Linked DNA regions of Homo sapiens: region 2 is linked to region 1. Evidence: promoter capture Hi-C in 16 types of primary human blood cells and fetal thymus (Javierre and others, 2016). All regions are on one chromosome and are shown on one strand. The core of a region is centred on a gene start or on the middle of the fragment in contact, and the rest is flanking DNA. Distances in the headings are between cores, read along the strand shown. Region 1 holds the start of PFDN1 (prefoldin subunit 1). Region 2 holds the start of SLC4A9 (solute carrier family 4 member 9).

Region 1 (6,990 bases), core at 822-3,321:
ATCTCATTTATGCCTCTCAGTAATTCCATGAGTTAGCATTGGCAGTCTCATCATCCACAATTTACAAATTAAGTAACCAAATGAGTTAAGAGATAAAAGTGGCTTGCACAAGGTTGAACAACTACTGGGGGGAAGGCAGGTGTTATTTAAATCCATTTCTTCTAACCCCTTAGTTCAGCAATCTTTCCATTCCACTGTCTATAGTAATATTCATAATATGAACATTTTTAAGAGGAAGACCAAGAAAGAGAGTGAGAAAAAATGCAAAGCACTGGCAAAAGAATTGCATCATGATCTTCATCCACAGATACCAGGCCAAATTTGACCCTTGCGTACACTTACTTAACTGGAAGATAAACAGTTCTTGGATACTTTTGTTGAAGTGCCTGGAATGACTTTCACATGCTGTTAAATTTGTGCCTTAATAACATCTGTGACTGCAATGCACAGCAAAGGCTACTACATAATTTTTATTGTGACCTTGTTTTCACCTACTAGTAAGGTTTTGAAAGATTTACTTTGGGGAAGGGGAGGGGCCTGAAATTTCCTATTTGTCTCCACCCAAAAAAAGGACCCTGTAAAAACATTAGAAGATAAAACCTTTAAACAAGTTTTTTAATTAATTGGTTATCAAAATTATTCATTTTAAGTTTGTAATCATTTTCTTAGTTTGCATTCACCGCCCGCAAGTTTCAAATGTAGCAATAAATTCAAAAGTACCGGGAGGCAAATCCATTCACTAAACCCTGATTTAAATCGGTACTTTTAACAGAAGAAAAGGTAAATTTTTAGAATGCACAATTTTGTTTTGAAATGTAAAATTCCAGGTATCATCTGACTGCTCTATACAGCTTGCTAAGGAAGCTAGTATACCATTAAAGATGAGCTAGTATACTGTTAAAGATTAGAGACTCCACCTAAGAGCTAAATTTACAAGATTCAAGACAAGAAGAACAAAAGCAAGACACAAACACATAATATCCTCACAACACTAACAAAAGCTTCATTTGTTAGAAGCAACAGCTATTTCGGCTGTCCTATTTCTTTTACACAAGTTGACCACAGGCAGTCTTAACTAAGATGTTGCTCATCTGAAGAACTCAAAATAGTGGTCAAAAAAGTGTGAGATAAGGCAGAGAATACTGGATTCTAGTCCCAACTTCTGACAGACTTTTCTGGCACTGGTTCCTTTTCCAGAAAAGTAGATTTAAAATAGATAAATTCTAGGGTCCTTTCCAATCCACCCCACCGCACAAAGCATACTGGTTTGGGGTCATTAGTGGTGTTAGAATGCTGATCATTCTTAGATAGCAAAAATCTGAATAACAACACATTTATAAGCAACTGAGGAAAACAGGAAACCCAATTCCTTCCGATACCGGTTTTATTTGGAAAACTTTACTGGTTTTGTTTTGTTTTTGACAATTCCTTCAAAAGAAGGAGGTTTTGTTTTGTTTTGTTTGACGAGTCCTTCAAAAGAAGTGGAGGGGGGGCAAAATCCTGAAATGAACATTGCTGCTACAATGCTTGGTTTTCCGAACTGTAGATATTGCAACTTTCAAGGTACAGAACCGAATAAATGGCCTAAAAACAAAGGTTGGACTTGGAGTTTTTCAAAGCAAATGAGGCAGAATTACGGATGCCACAGCTCAGGCAAGGGGTCCGAAGGGACCCCCATTTGAAATGCTCTCTTTAGTTCTTACTATGAAAGTGAGTCCCTGAAGCCTCCAAACGCAACGAAATGTCTCTGGAGCTCAGAAAGACTGGACAAGCCCGAGACAGGCCCGCAGACTTACCCGACCCAGACCAACCGGCTCCTACCCAGCAAGAGCCGCTCGCCCCCCACCCCGTTTATGGAGACCCAGTGAGGCCTTAGGACTCTGGGAAACCATTCCCTAGTCCACTGGACCCTCCTTCCTTCTGCAAGGCTCGTGCCTCACTTGATATTCTTGTCTATAGTCCCCTCAGCCTCCAAAAAGAAGACCTCCGCCTGCCAAAGACCCTCTTTTACCTTCTTCAGCTCTAGATCCACGGGGGCGGCCATCTTGGTGCACTGTAAGCGCCTGCGCAGTGGGAGTTGGACTGAAATAGGGTGGGGAAGGGCGCGTCTTACTTTGTGCGCCGGTCTTTCTTCTGCGCCTGCGCATGAGTTGGACTAACCGGGCTTCTTATCTTTCTCTGAGAATTGACTCCTGAAATATTTGGGTTTCGGATTCCGTGTCTTCACTACCTGACCGGTCAGGTCTGGCTTGCTCCTCCGTATCTTCCAGACATAGCCCAACGCGCAGATTTCCCATGTGGCTTTAAGCAGTTTGCCAGCTAGCTTAATATGTGCTGCTAAATTGAGATGTATGTAGATGAGGTCAAACCCTCATCAGTCGATCAGTCCTTCAGCTAGTCGCTGTGCTCTCAGGAATGAGTAAGAGTAAGTCCAGAACCTCAGGCATGACAGTTTGGGAAAGACTATTGGAAAGCTTGTCTGGAGTGTTCTTTCCAAAACGAACTTATTACTTCCAAAAGCTTCCCAAAGACATTCTAGGCACAGTGGTTCTCAAGAGAGGCTGAATACGTTTGTTTAAAAACAAAAAAATGCAGGTTCTCTGGGTCTCATCTCAAACGTACTCAGAATCTTTGAGAATGGGGTCTGGAAATTTGCACTTTTGCAGACTACCCCAGTGACCTAATGGTGCAACTCCTCCGCGGATCACTTTTTTGAGAATCTCTGCCATAAAAGGACCTGGCATTTGAACCAGAATAGATAATAATTGACTTTTGGAAATGGAAAAAAAAGTTAACCTACTCTAAAAACTGTTATGCTAAGAGAAAGTGCTACATAAATAATTAGGAAATTTATTTTATTTTTTAAAAAAAGAAAGAAAGAGAGAAAGAAAACAAACTGTTAGGGAGATGAAAGGGCAGGGAATTTGGAACCAGCCTAATCTAGATTCAAGGCTTGGTCTGCCTTTAGCCTATGTCTGGTTCCATTTACTAATTGTGTGACTTTAAGCAAGTCACTTGGATATTTTGTGGGGTTTTTTTTTTTTTTTGTACGTTTGTTTGTTTCTTGAGACAGGATCTTGCTCTGTCACCCAGGCTCGAGTGCAATGGTGCAATCACGACTCACTCCAGCCTCTACCTCCCGCGCTCAAGCGATCCTCCCACCTCAGCCTCGTGAGTAGCGCTGGGACTACAGGCGCGCGCCACCCACACTCAGCTAATTTTTATATTTTTGTACAGACGGGTTTTCACCTTGTTGCCCAAGCTGGTCTCAAACTCCTGAGCTCAAACAATCCGCTCGCCTTGGTCGCCCAAAGTGCTGTAGTGCTTTGATATTAAAGGCTTGAGCCACCGCACCCGGCCACATTTTTTTTTTTTTTTTTTTTTTGAGCCAGGGTCTCGCTCTGTCACCCAGGCTGGAATGCAGTGGCACGATCTCGGCTCACTGCAACCTCTGCCTCCCAGGATCAAGTGATTCTCCTGCCTCAGCCTCCCGAGTAGCTGGGATTACAGGCGCCTGCCACCACGCCCGGCTAATTTTTGTAGTTTTGGTAGAGACGGGTTTCACCGTGTTGCCCAGGCTGGTCTCCAACTCCCAGCCTCAAGTGATCCGCCTGCCTCGGCCTCCCAAAGGGCTGGGATTACAGGCAAGCCACCACGTCCAGCATCTGCCACCTATTTTTAATGAGCTTCAGTCTTCTCATGTTTGAGAGTGACCATATTGACCTAACAGGGTTATTGTGAGAAATAAATGAGATCAGGATAAAAAGCTCCAAACATAGCTCCATGCACACAAGTAGATACTCAATAAATCACTGGTGTTAATCGCCGTCCTGTTTGTCTTTCAAAGTCCAGCAAATGGGCACTACATCCCCCATCACACAGAGCAAAGATAATCTCTCCTCTGAACTCCCCTCACAACATCTATTTCTCTCTCAAGGCATATAACACTGTCTACCTTTTTTTAGAAAACATTTTTCTTAGACTGTAAGCTCCTTGAAATCAAGAACTATGGAATAATGGTTCTTCCACCTCTTGTACCTAGAACACCTGTCACAGTGCATCACGGGAAAAAAATACAAAATGGATACTGGATGTGAATAAATTATTCTGGAAAAAAAAAAGAAGACTCATTCCTCCCCAATTTGAGAAAGAGTAAAAAGGATCTGATATTTTGATTCTCTGGGACCTTCTTAGATTCTCATTACAGATGATCAATAAATACTGACTGATTAGCCAGGCATGGTGGCATGCCCCTGTAGTCCCAGCTACTCAGGAGGCTGAGGCAGGAGAATTGTGTGAGGCCTGGAGGCCAAGGCTGCAGTGAGTGGGGATCAATTGTGTCATTGCACTCCAGCCTGAAAGACAGAGTGAGACCTTGTCTCAAAAAATAAAATAAAATAAAATAAAATAAAATAGTGATTGAATATTGAAATTCAAAAAAAGTCTGAAATACTGTCCTGTACATTACCTCATGAGACTTTTGAAAGAGTCCTCATAGAGATGTATGGACTGTAAAAGTTAAGAGCCTGGGCTAAGCTGTCAGACAACCTGGGTACAAATACTGATTATACTACTTAAGGGTAATATGATCTTAGGCAAGAGTCTTCTCTGCATTGTTTGTTTGGTCATTGTTTCTCTTTGTGTATTTGTATACTACTTCTTCCTCATGAGTTTAATTTCCTTTTTTTTTTTTTTTCTTTTTTGAGACATGGTCTCATTCTGTCACCCAGGCTAGAGTGCAGTGGTTCAATCTCAGCTCACTTCAGCCTCCACCTCCCGGGTTCCAGCAATTCTCCTGCCTCAGCCTCCCTAGTAGCTTGGATTACAGGTGCATGTCACCACCTGGCTACTTTTCGTATTTCTTGTAAAGATGGGGTTTCACCATGTTGGCCAGGCTGGTCTTGAACTCCTGACCCCAGGTGATCCACCTGCCTCAGCCTCTCAAAGTGCTGGGATTACAGGCATGAGCCACTGCACCCAGCCTAATTTCCTTCATGATAAAGGAAATCCTTCAGTAGGTTCTTTTAGTAAGAATGTCTGATAAGTAAATTCTCTTCATCTTTGTTTTACAGGTTGAATTGTGCCCCCCACAAAAGATATGTTGAAGTCCTAACTCCCAGTACCTCAGAATGTGACCCTATTTGAAAGTAGGGTTTTGGGACAGGCGTGGTGGCTCATACCTATAATCCTAGCAGTTTGGGAGACTGAGGCGGGAGGATTCTTTGAGCCCATGAGTTTGAGACCAGCCTGGACAATAGGGCGAGACCTCATCTCTACAAAAAATAAAAAAAATTAACCGAGTGTGGTGGCAGTTATCTATATTCCCAGTTACTTGGGAGGCTGCAATAGGTGCATTGCTTGAGCCCAGGAAATTGAGGCTCCAGTAAGCTATGATCTACCACTGCACTCCCACCTGGGTGACAGAGCAAAGCCATGTCTCAAAAAATAAAAAGAAAGGGAGAAAGGAAGGAAGGAAGGAAGGAAGGAAATGGAGTTTTTACAGAGGTAATCAAGTTAAATGAGGTTATTAGAGTGGGCCCTAATGCAATATGACTGATGTCTTTATAAAAAGGGGAACTTTGGACACATACAGACACACACACAAGGAGGACTATGTGAACAGACATAAGGAGAAAGCCACATCAAACCTGGGGCTATCAGGCCAGGCGTGGTGGCTCACGCCTGTAATCCCAGCACTTTGGGAGGCCAAGGCAGGCAGATCACCTGAGGTCGGGAGTTCAAGACCAGCCTGACCAACATGGAGAAGCCCCGTCTCTACCAAAAATACAAAATTAGCGGGGCGTAGTGGTGCATGCCTGTAATCCCAGCTACCCAGGAGGCTGAGGCAGGAGAATTGCTTGAACCTGGGCGGTGGAGGTTGCAGTGAGCCGAGATTGTGCCATTGCACTCCAGCCTGGGCAACAAGAGCAAAACTCTGTCTCAAAAAAACCATCTGGGGCTATCAGAAACTGGAAAAGGCAAGAAGGATTCTTCTCTTTCGGGTTTCAGATAAAACATGGCTTTGCCAACACCTTGATTTTGGACTTCTAGCCCCCAGAACTGAGACAATAAATTTGTGTTGTTTTAAGCCACCCAGTTTGTGGTACTTTGTTGTGGCAGCCCTAGAAAATGCTCTGTGTATATCTAAAAATGTACATCAGGCCAGGTGTGGTGGCTCATGCCTGGAATCCCAGCACTTTAGGAGGCCAAGGCAGAAGCATTGCTTGAGGCCAGGAGTTGAACAAGACCAGCCTGGACAACATAGTAAGACCCCATTGCTACAAAAATTTTTAAAAATTATCCAGGTGTGGCACACCTCTGTAGTCCCAGCTACTTGAGAGGCTGAGGCAGAGAATAGCTTGAGCCCAGGAGTTCAAGGTTGCAGTGAGCTATGATCTGCCACTGCACTCTAGCCAGGGTGACAGAGCAACACCCTGTCTCAAAAAAAATGTTTTTTGTTTTTTTTTTTTTTGAGACGGAGTCTCACTCTTTCACCCAGGCTGGACTGCAGTGGTGCTATCTCGGCTCACTGCAAGCTCCACCTCCCGGGTTCATGCCATTCTCCTGCCTCAGCCTCCCAAGTAGCTGGGACTACAGGCGCCCGCCACCGTGCCCAGCTAATTTTTTGTATTTTTAGTAGAGACGGGGTTTCACCGTGTTAGCCAAGATGGTCTCAATCTCCTGACCTCGTGATCCGCCTGCCTCGGCCTCCCAAAGTGCTGGGATTACAGGCGTGAGCCACCACGCCTGGCCAAAAAATATGTATATTTTTTTAAATAAATAAATGCATATCTAAAAGGTTCACCCTTATTTTTGAATGACAGCTTAGCTATATATAGAACTATAGGTTGACAATTATTATTGAAGGCATTTTTCCATAGTTTTCTGATTTTATATACTGATAAAAAGTCCTCTGTCAGGCTGCTTTTCATTTCTTTGTTAGAAATCTGTCTTTTCTCTGGTATATTTTAAGATTCACTTTGTCTTTGG
Region 2 (7,556 bases), core at 660-3,159, 57 kb after region 1:
CGGGCGCCTGTAGTCCCAGCTACTCTGGAGGCTGAGGCAGGAGAATGGCGTGAACACGGGAGGCGGAGCTTGCAGTAAGCCGAGATCATGCCACTGCACTCCAGCCTGGGCAACAGAGCGAGACTCCGTCTCAAAAAAAAAAAAAAAAAAAAAAAAGAAAGAAACTTAGGATAGGATGGAAAAGGAAGATTTCCGTGAGTAGCTAACGTCTGAGATGAGACCTAGGTCACAGATTGTCATGTAAGGATATGGGGGAAAGGCTTTCCTTACAGAGAAAATAGATCCTGCAAAGATCCTCAGGCAGGAACAGGTTTTGCAGAACAGGTGAAGGCCAGTGTGGTTAGAAAGGAGTGAGCGAGGGGAGGCTGGTGTGAGATGCCGTCAGAGAGGTGGGTTGGGGCCAGGGTGTGAATCTTGCAGGCCACGACAAGGAGCTTGATTTTTTTTTCTTCTTCTTCTAGGAGTAATGGGAGTGTGTTGGGTGAGTATTGAACCGAAGAGTAATGTGGCTCAACTGCCTTTTGAAAGGACATGTATGGTGTGGAGGATGGACTTTGGGCAAGGGAGGAAGAGTGGAAGCAGGGGGGTTATTACAAGAGACCAGGAAGCTACTGAAATAATTCAGGTGAGAAATGATGGTTGTTTGAATCAGGGTAGCAGTGCTGGAGGTGGGGAGATGTGGTTGGATTATGGGTATATTTTGAAGATAGAGTCAACAGGATTTGCAAATAATGGACCACATTTTCCTTTGCTCATTTAGCTCCAGGAACTCCTTCACTTACACCCCCTAGTGGGCTCCTCCATCCTCACAGGGCAGATCCCAGGGACACAGCTAAATTAGGGAATTCCTAAGTGTTGTTGGACAAAAGAATTTAAGACTCGTTAGCTGGGCAGCCAGGCACAGTGGCTTACGCTTGTAATCCTAGCACTTTGGGAGGCTGAGGCGGATGGATCACCTGAGGTCAGGAGTTTTTGAGACCAGCCTGGCCAACATGGTGAAACCCTGTCTCTACTAAAAATATAAAAATCAGCCAGGCCTGGTGGCACATGTCTGTAATCTCAGCTACTTGGGAGGCTGAGGCAGGAGAATCACTTGAACCCAAGAGGTGAAGGTTGCAGTGAGCTGAGATCACACCACTGCACTCCAGCCTGGGCGACAGAGCGAGACTCCGTCTCAAAAATAAAATAAAATAAAATAAAAGACTTAGCTGGGCATGGTGGCGTGCACCTGTAGTCCCAACTACCTTGGAGGCTGAGGTGGGAGGATCACTTGAGCTAGGAGGTCAAAGGTGCAGTGAGCTATAACTGTGCCACTACACTCCAGACTGGGTGAGAGAGTGAGACCCTGTCTCAAAAAAAAAGAAAAGAAAAGAATTTAAGACTCAGACACTAGGTCTTCCACCATTATCCCATTTAATGGGCAGGTCCTCTGCCTGCTATCTCCCTTACCCTGTCTGGCTTCCATGGACTCAATTATTTATTAGGTCCCTGTTTGTCCAAATAGGTGTGTCTGTGGCCCCAGGGGTGTGTTGGTGACACCCAAAACAGTCCTGGGTGTTTGGTATTTATATTTGATACAAGTGAGGGGGGCAGCAAAATCTGGGGGTACCAAGTCCTCAGACCCAAGCCAATCATTTACTCCTGTTTCTTTACACAAAACACAGTGGGATCAGACCTGATACCACAGGAAATGCACATACACATTTTGGCCCCAGGTTGGGCATTTCTGGAGAGCCTGGGAAAGGCCAGACTAGTCTTACAAATACTCTTATGCCAGCAGGGGGTGGGGTAAGCAAGTAGGGGAGTAGGTGACCGGTAGAGTCTGGAGTCAGCAGGCCTTGTTCTGTTTGTGTTGTGCTGCAGTGGGGGATGCATTATAAATGCAACCAGCCAGAGGGCCCCTGGCTTCAGAACCTAGGACTGTACTGGTTCTGAGATTCTGTGCAAGCCTCATGGAAATGAAGCTGCCAGGCCAGGAAGGGTTTGAAGCCTCCAGTGCTCCTAGAAATATTCCTTCAGGGGAGCTGGACAGCAACCCTGACCCTGGCACCGGCCCCAGCCCTGATGGCCCCTCAGACACAGAGAGCAAGGAACTGGGAGTACCCAAAGACCCTCTGCTCTTCATTCAGCTGAATGAGCTGCTGGGCTGGCCCCAGGCGCTGGAGTGGAGAGAGACAGGCAGGTAAGTTGGATGCAGGCCAGTTCTGTGGGATCCTTCCCCTTCCCCAGCTGGAGCCTCCTATATGTCCCCCAGCGCTTCTTATGGGGCTGCCCAAAATTAGGATTTTCCCAGCTGTGTTCCCTTATTTCAGGGTCTTACCTTCCATGATGCCCAGCCTCCTCTGCAGTCTAGTTTTGAGATCCCCAAGACCCTAGATGAGGGGTGACTGCCAGGGTGGGGGGGAGACTTCACACCACTGGGCCCAGGATGCCCTCATTGCCTTGCCTTCCCTAGCTCCTCTGCATCTCTGCTCCTGGACATGGGAGAAATGCCCTCAATAACACTGTCTACCCACCTTCATCACAGGTGGGTACTGTTTGAGGAGAAGTTGGAGGTGGCTGCAGGCCGGTGGAGTGCCCCCCACGTGCCCACCCTGGCACTGCCCAGCCTCCAGAAGCTCCGCAGCCTGCTGGCCGAGGGCCTTGTACTGCTGGACTGCCCAGCTCAGAGCCTCCTGGAGCTCGTGGGTAGGCTGGGATCCTTTGCAGGAAGGGCCTGGGTAGCCATGCCTTTTCCCCAGGATTTCCCCTCCAAAGTCTTGAAATCTTCCAGAGCCCATCCCTACCCCTCCTAGGATTGTCTACCCTTGTCACAGGGTGGACATGGAAAAGCAGGGTGGAGGAGCAAGTTCATTGGCCCTGGCATTCTGAGACTCCCAGAAGGGAAAGGTGTCTGGGCAGAGGGAGAAGGGGAAGAGTGTGCGGCAGGGAACTCTCAGGAAGGAGATGACCCCCAATCCATTCTCCAGAGCAGGTGACCAGGGTGGAGTCGCTGAGCCCAGAGCTGAGAGGGCAGTTGCAGGCCTTGCTGCTGCAGAGACCCCAGCATTACAACCAGACCACAGGCACCAGGCCCTGCTGGGGTGAGAGCCCCTCCCTGGGCCCAGGACCAAGACCCTGGTGTGGCAGGGTCTCAGATCTCCCCTGCACCTTCCAGGGCTAGAAGTAGCCCAGGCTTAGTTCAGGCTCCAACCCAGGACTCATGAGCAAGAGGAAACTGGTGGTAATGTTGTGGGGAGAAGATTCAGGGGGCTAGAATCGTAAGAGAGTTCTGTGAAGACATGTACTTGGTAGGCACTAGGCCTACCATTTGATCTTCACAGTATCTCATTTGATCTTCACAACCACCCTGTAAATAGTACCACAATTATCCCCATTTTAGTGGTGAGAAAACTGTGGCTCAGAGTGGAGAAGGGTATACTCTAATTCTTACAGCTTGTCAGTGGCAAAAGTGATTAGGGAATCCTGGTGGATCCACCCCCAAAGCCTGTGGTCTTAATCACTGCATAATCCTGTTTTGTAGGCTCTACTCATCCAAGAAAGGCTTCTGACAATGAGGAAGCCCCCCTGAGGGAACAGGTTTGTGGCCCTTCCTTGGGGTCCCTTTCCAGTGGCTGGGAGAGGGGTTAGAAATTAACAAAAGTCTACTCTCCACTGGATTTCTCATCATTTGAGATCTTATCCTCCCCAAATAACCTTTCATATTCTGTGTCTCCTTGAACCCCCATCCAGTGTCAGAACCCCCTGAGACAGAAGCTACCTCCAGGAGCTGAGGCAGGGACTGTGCTGGCAGGGGAGCTGGGCTTCCTGGCACAGCCACTGGGAGCCTTTGTTCGACTGCGGAACCCTGTGGTACTGGGGTCCCTTACTGAGGTGTCCCTCCCAAGCAGGTGAGGCTACTGAGTGAGTGGGAGTCAGGGATCCCAGAACCTAGAAGGGTCTTTACTGAGGAGGGGAAGGAGGGTCTCAGTCTGATTCTCTGAGGCTGTGGGGAGGATGGTGCTCAGGGGTCTGGGGAGAGAGTAGTGGTCAGGGCTGCATGGTAGGTGTGCAAATGAGTGTGTTTATGGGAGCTGATAGGTCAGAGCTGAGCATCAGAGGCCAGGGCTGCCCTGTGGGAAAGCAGCCTGTGAATCTCTGGGGCCTGGTTCCTTCCTCAGGTTTTTCTGCCTTCTCCTGGGCCCCTGTATGCTGGGAAAGGGCTACCATGAGATGGGACGGGCAGCAGCTGTCCTCCTCAGTGACCCGGTGAGCTGAGCAGGTGTGTGTGTGTGCGCGCGCACGCGTGCATGCCTGTGTGTGTGTGCACACATGCATACATGCATGGGCTCATGTGAGTGTGTGTGTGTGGACTCTGTATGTGTCCCTAAATACAGCAATGAGGCACAGTGAGCACTGAGACTGAAGTTTCCTCGTCTCCTAGTGCAGCCCCATTACTGGATGAGTGCTGGCACACTGTAGGCACTCAATAGATACCCACTGAATGAATGAATTAATGCATGCATAAAGGAATGTGTGAATGACTTGTCTGCCTCTGTGACTTGTGTCTGTCTAGTTTTGAGACTATGAAAATGCATGTAAGAGACCAGGTTTGCACTTACCACCCATTCTGTGCCCCCATTCCCAGCAATTCCAGTGGTCAGTTCGTCGGGCCAGCAACCTTCATGACCTTCTGGCAGCCCTGGATGCATTCCTAGAGGAGGTGACAGTGCTTCCCCCAGGTCGGTGGGACCCAACAGCCCGGATTCCCCCGCCCAAATGTCTGCCATCTCAGCACAAAAGGTACCTGGGAGCCATCATCCCATACAGATTCCTGCCCATATAGGCCCTGGGTCTAATTCCATTGTTGAGGAGGGGTGGTGTCCCAGGAAAGAGATAGGGACCTATCTTTGGATTTGGAGTCAGGCAGACCTAACTCTGAGTTCTGCTGGACTACTCTCTCGCTAAGAGACCTGAACAAAGACCTTCCCTGCCCGAGCCTGGCTTTCACAGGTCGCAATATGACCTGGACCTTCTAGAGGCCCAGGTGTCGCCATGGTTCCCTCGCCGGCAGAGACAAGAGCAGCCGCTAGGGGGCAGGGCGCCACGAGCTCTGGACCGAGTCGCAGACTGGTTGGAGATCCTCAGCCAACCTGGGGTTCCCCTCCTCCTCAGGCTTCCCTCGCAACAGCGGGAGATCAGAGGTCCCGCCGTCCCGCGCCTGACCTCGGCTGAGGACAGGCACCGCCATGGGCCACACGCACACAGCCCGGAGTTGCAGCGGACCGGCAGGTGAGGCGAGCTGGGAGGAAACAAGGGTAGGTGACCTGGGGGAGGGGAGGAGTCACAGGGAAACTGAGGTGTGTGCTCACTGTGGGAGGGGCTCACCCGGTCACAGGGAAAGTAGCGGGGATGCGGGTGTGGAGTGTGAAAACCTGGATCACTGACGACCCTCGGGCGGGAGGCTGTTTGGGGGCCTTATCCAGGACGTGCGCAGGAAGGTCCCGTGGTACCCCAGCGATTTCTTGGACGCCCTGCATCTCCAGTGCTTCTCGGCCGTACTCTACATTTACCTGGCCACTGTCACTAATGCCATCACTTTTGGGGGTCTGCTGGGAGATGCCACTGATGGTGCCCAGGTGGGTAGGGCCCAGGGGGCAGGCACAAGCGTTGGTGTCCCCTAGTCCATCCCTTCCCCTGGGACTATGGGTAAGTTAAGGAGGCTCTCCCAAAGCTTCAAAGGACCCCGAGGACTTCAGGGTCCTGTGCTGAGCCCCTGTTGGCTTCCAGGGAGTGCTGGAAAGTTTCCTGGGCACAGCAGTGGCTGGAGCTGCCTTCTGCCTGATGGCAGGCCAGCCCCTCACCATTCTGAGCAGCACGGGGCCAGTGCTGGTCTTTGAGCGCCTGCTCTTCTCTTTCAGCAGGTAGGAGAGCTCCCCCCATCACCGGACCCTCACTAGTGCCATGGTCAGCCTGCTCCTGGCTGGGTGAATAGGAGAGAGTGGGAGCTATCTGTTTGGGTTGAGGGACACCTGACCTGGGTTTAGTGGGAAGCAGACAGCCCTGCTAAGCCAGCCTTCCTGTCTCTCATCCCCACAGAGATTACAGCCTGGACTACCTGCCCTTCCGCCTATGGGTGGGCATCTGGGTGGCTACCTTTTGCCTGGTGCTGGTGGCCACAGAGGCCAGTGTGCTGGTGCGCTACTTCACCCGCTTCACTGAGGAAGGTTTCTGTGCCCTCATCAGCCTCATCTTCATCTACGATGCTGTGGGCAAAATGCTGAACTTGACCCATACCTATCCTATCCAGAAGCCTGGGTCCTCTGCCTACGGGTGCCTCTGCCAATACCCAGGCCCAGGAGGTGGGTAAGGGAAACAGGGACCTTGGTCAGGTGAAGAAGGATGTAGGGAAGGGGAGGGGCTGCACCCTTACTATCCCCCCTGGTTAAGTTCAGCAAAATGCTGCATACTTACCCAATAACTGGCAGTACTATTTACACTCTGGTTCTGAATCAATTGAGAAATAAGACAACAGAAGGCCTGATATCATCTTCCTTTCTGACAACACTGATAAAGGAACATGGGTTATATCTGTGGGTGAATGGGCTTCCTAATGATGAAGCCAAAATTGAATAGACTTACCCACCAGTCGTGGAAGCACTGGTTTGAGACTATCTTACCCCAGGGGAGTAGAGCTAAATACATACATCAAACAGGCAGCTTATACTCGAGAGAGGGGAGAGAAAGGGGCAGGGCCAGGTATGCCCAGCTTCATTTCCTGAAATCACCAATCAAATATATCACTGCTCTTCTGGGTGAGAGTGGCCGGCCAGGTGGAGAGAGGCTTGGAGTATTACACTTGCATATATCCCTCCACATGGAAGGCAACCCCAGGACTGGGAAGAAGTGGCCTCTCTATATGTTCTCCTATCAGTGCTAGGCATGAACAAGACCAGTTCTAGCCCTGGTGGAAACACACAGATTTGTATACTCCTCTATTCAGCCAACATTTGCTGAGCATCTACTGTGGCCAGGTCCAGTGCTTGGTACCAGGGATGCAGATGGGTAGAGAATTTGAGAGGATGGGGGCATGAGACAATGTCCTTCTCGCACACTTGGTAGTGATAGAGTCAGCAGACAGATGAGTCACAATTAAGAACTCTGGTTCACCTGGACCCATCAGATAAGAATTTTATGGGGCTGGAGGAGGTTCCCAGGGGAGGGAACATACATCTGAATTCTTCTCTGCTTCCCAGGAAATGAGTCTCAATGGATAAGGACAAGGCCAAAAGACAGAGACGACATTGTAAGCATGGTGAGGGACTGCTCCTGGGAGGTTCTAGGAAGGAAAGGGTGGAGACCAAGGCAGTCGGTGGTTTCTAGCTCTTCCTACCCATAGGTTAAGGAAACCTTCATAGGTGAGTAAAGCTTAGCCATTTCCTACAGCTGGGAACTTCCCATCCTGGGCCCCTGGTGTCTCTGTGGGTCCCTCCTCCCTTGAAGTTGGTCCAGGAGAGCAGGACATTTACTCCATTGCCTATAACTCCACTCCTGACCCTCCTGTGTACAGGACTTAG

Evidence for each region. Contacts are between HindIII fragments. The CHiCAGO score rates a contact against its expected background, and 5 or more counts as called.
Region 2: a contact is called between the fragment with the promoter of SLC4A9 here and the fragment with the promoter of PFDN1 in region 1, in 1 of 17 cell types (monocytes). The highest score is 6.9, in monocytes.

Annotation. Positions count from the first base shown.
Region 1 is chr5:140,301,030-140,308,019 of GRCh38, forward strand. It overlaps PFDN1 (prefoldin subunit 1), which reads right to left and starts at 2,072. Exons shown (of 4, transcript NM_002622.5): 1 at 2,012-2,072. The coding sequence starts at 2,044. RefSeq lists an enhancer at 1,809-2,088 and a silencer at 1,977-2,181. The HindIII fragment of the contact is 1,473 bases long and covers 1,000-2,472 here.
Region 2 is chr5:140,358,285-140,365,840 of GRCh38, forward strand. It overlaps SLC4A9 (solute carrier family 4 member 9), which reads left to right and starts at 1,910. Exons shown (of 22, transcript NM_031467.3): 1 at 1,910-2,182; 2 at 2,528-2,688; 3 at 2,970-3,083; 4 at 3,524-3,579; 5 at 3,733-3,890; 6 at 4,161-4,248; 7 at 4,628-4,782; 8 at 5,155-5,271; 9 at 5,444-5,618; 10 at 5,770-5,903; 11 at 6,079-6,341; 12 at 7,236-7,294; 13 at 7,550-7,556. The coding sequence starts at 1,953. RefSeq lists enhancers at 4,771-4,920, 4,791-5,336. The HindIII fragment of the contact is 10,887 bases long and covers 1-5,711 here.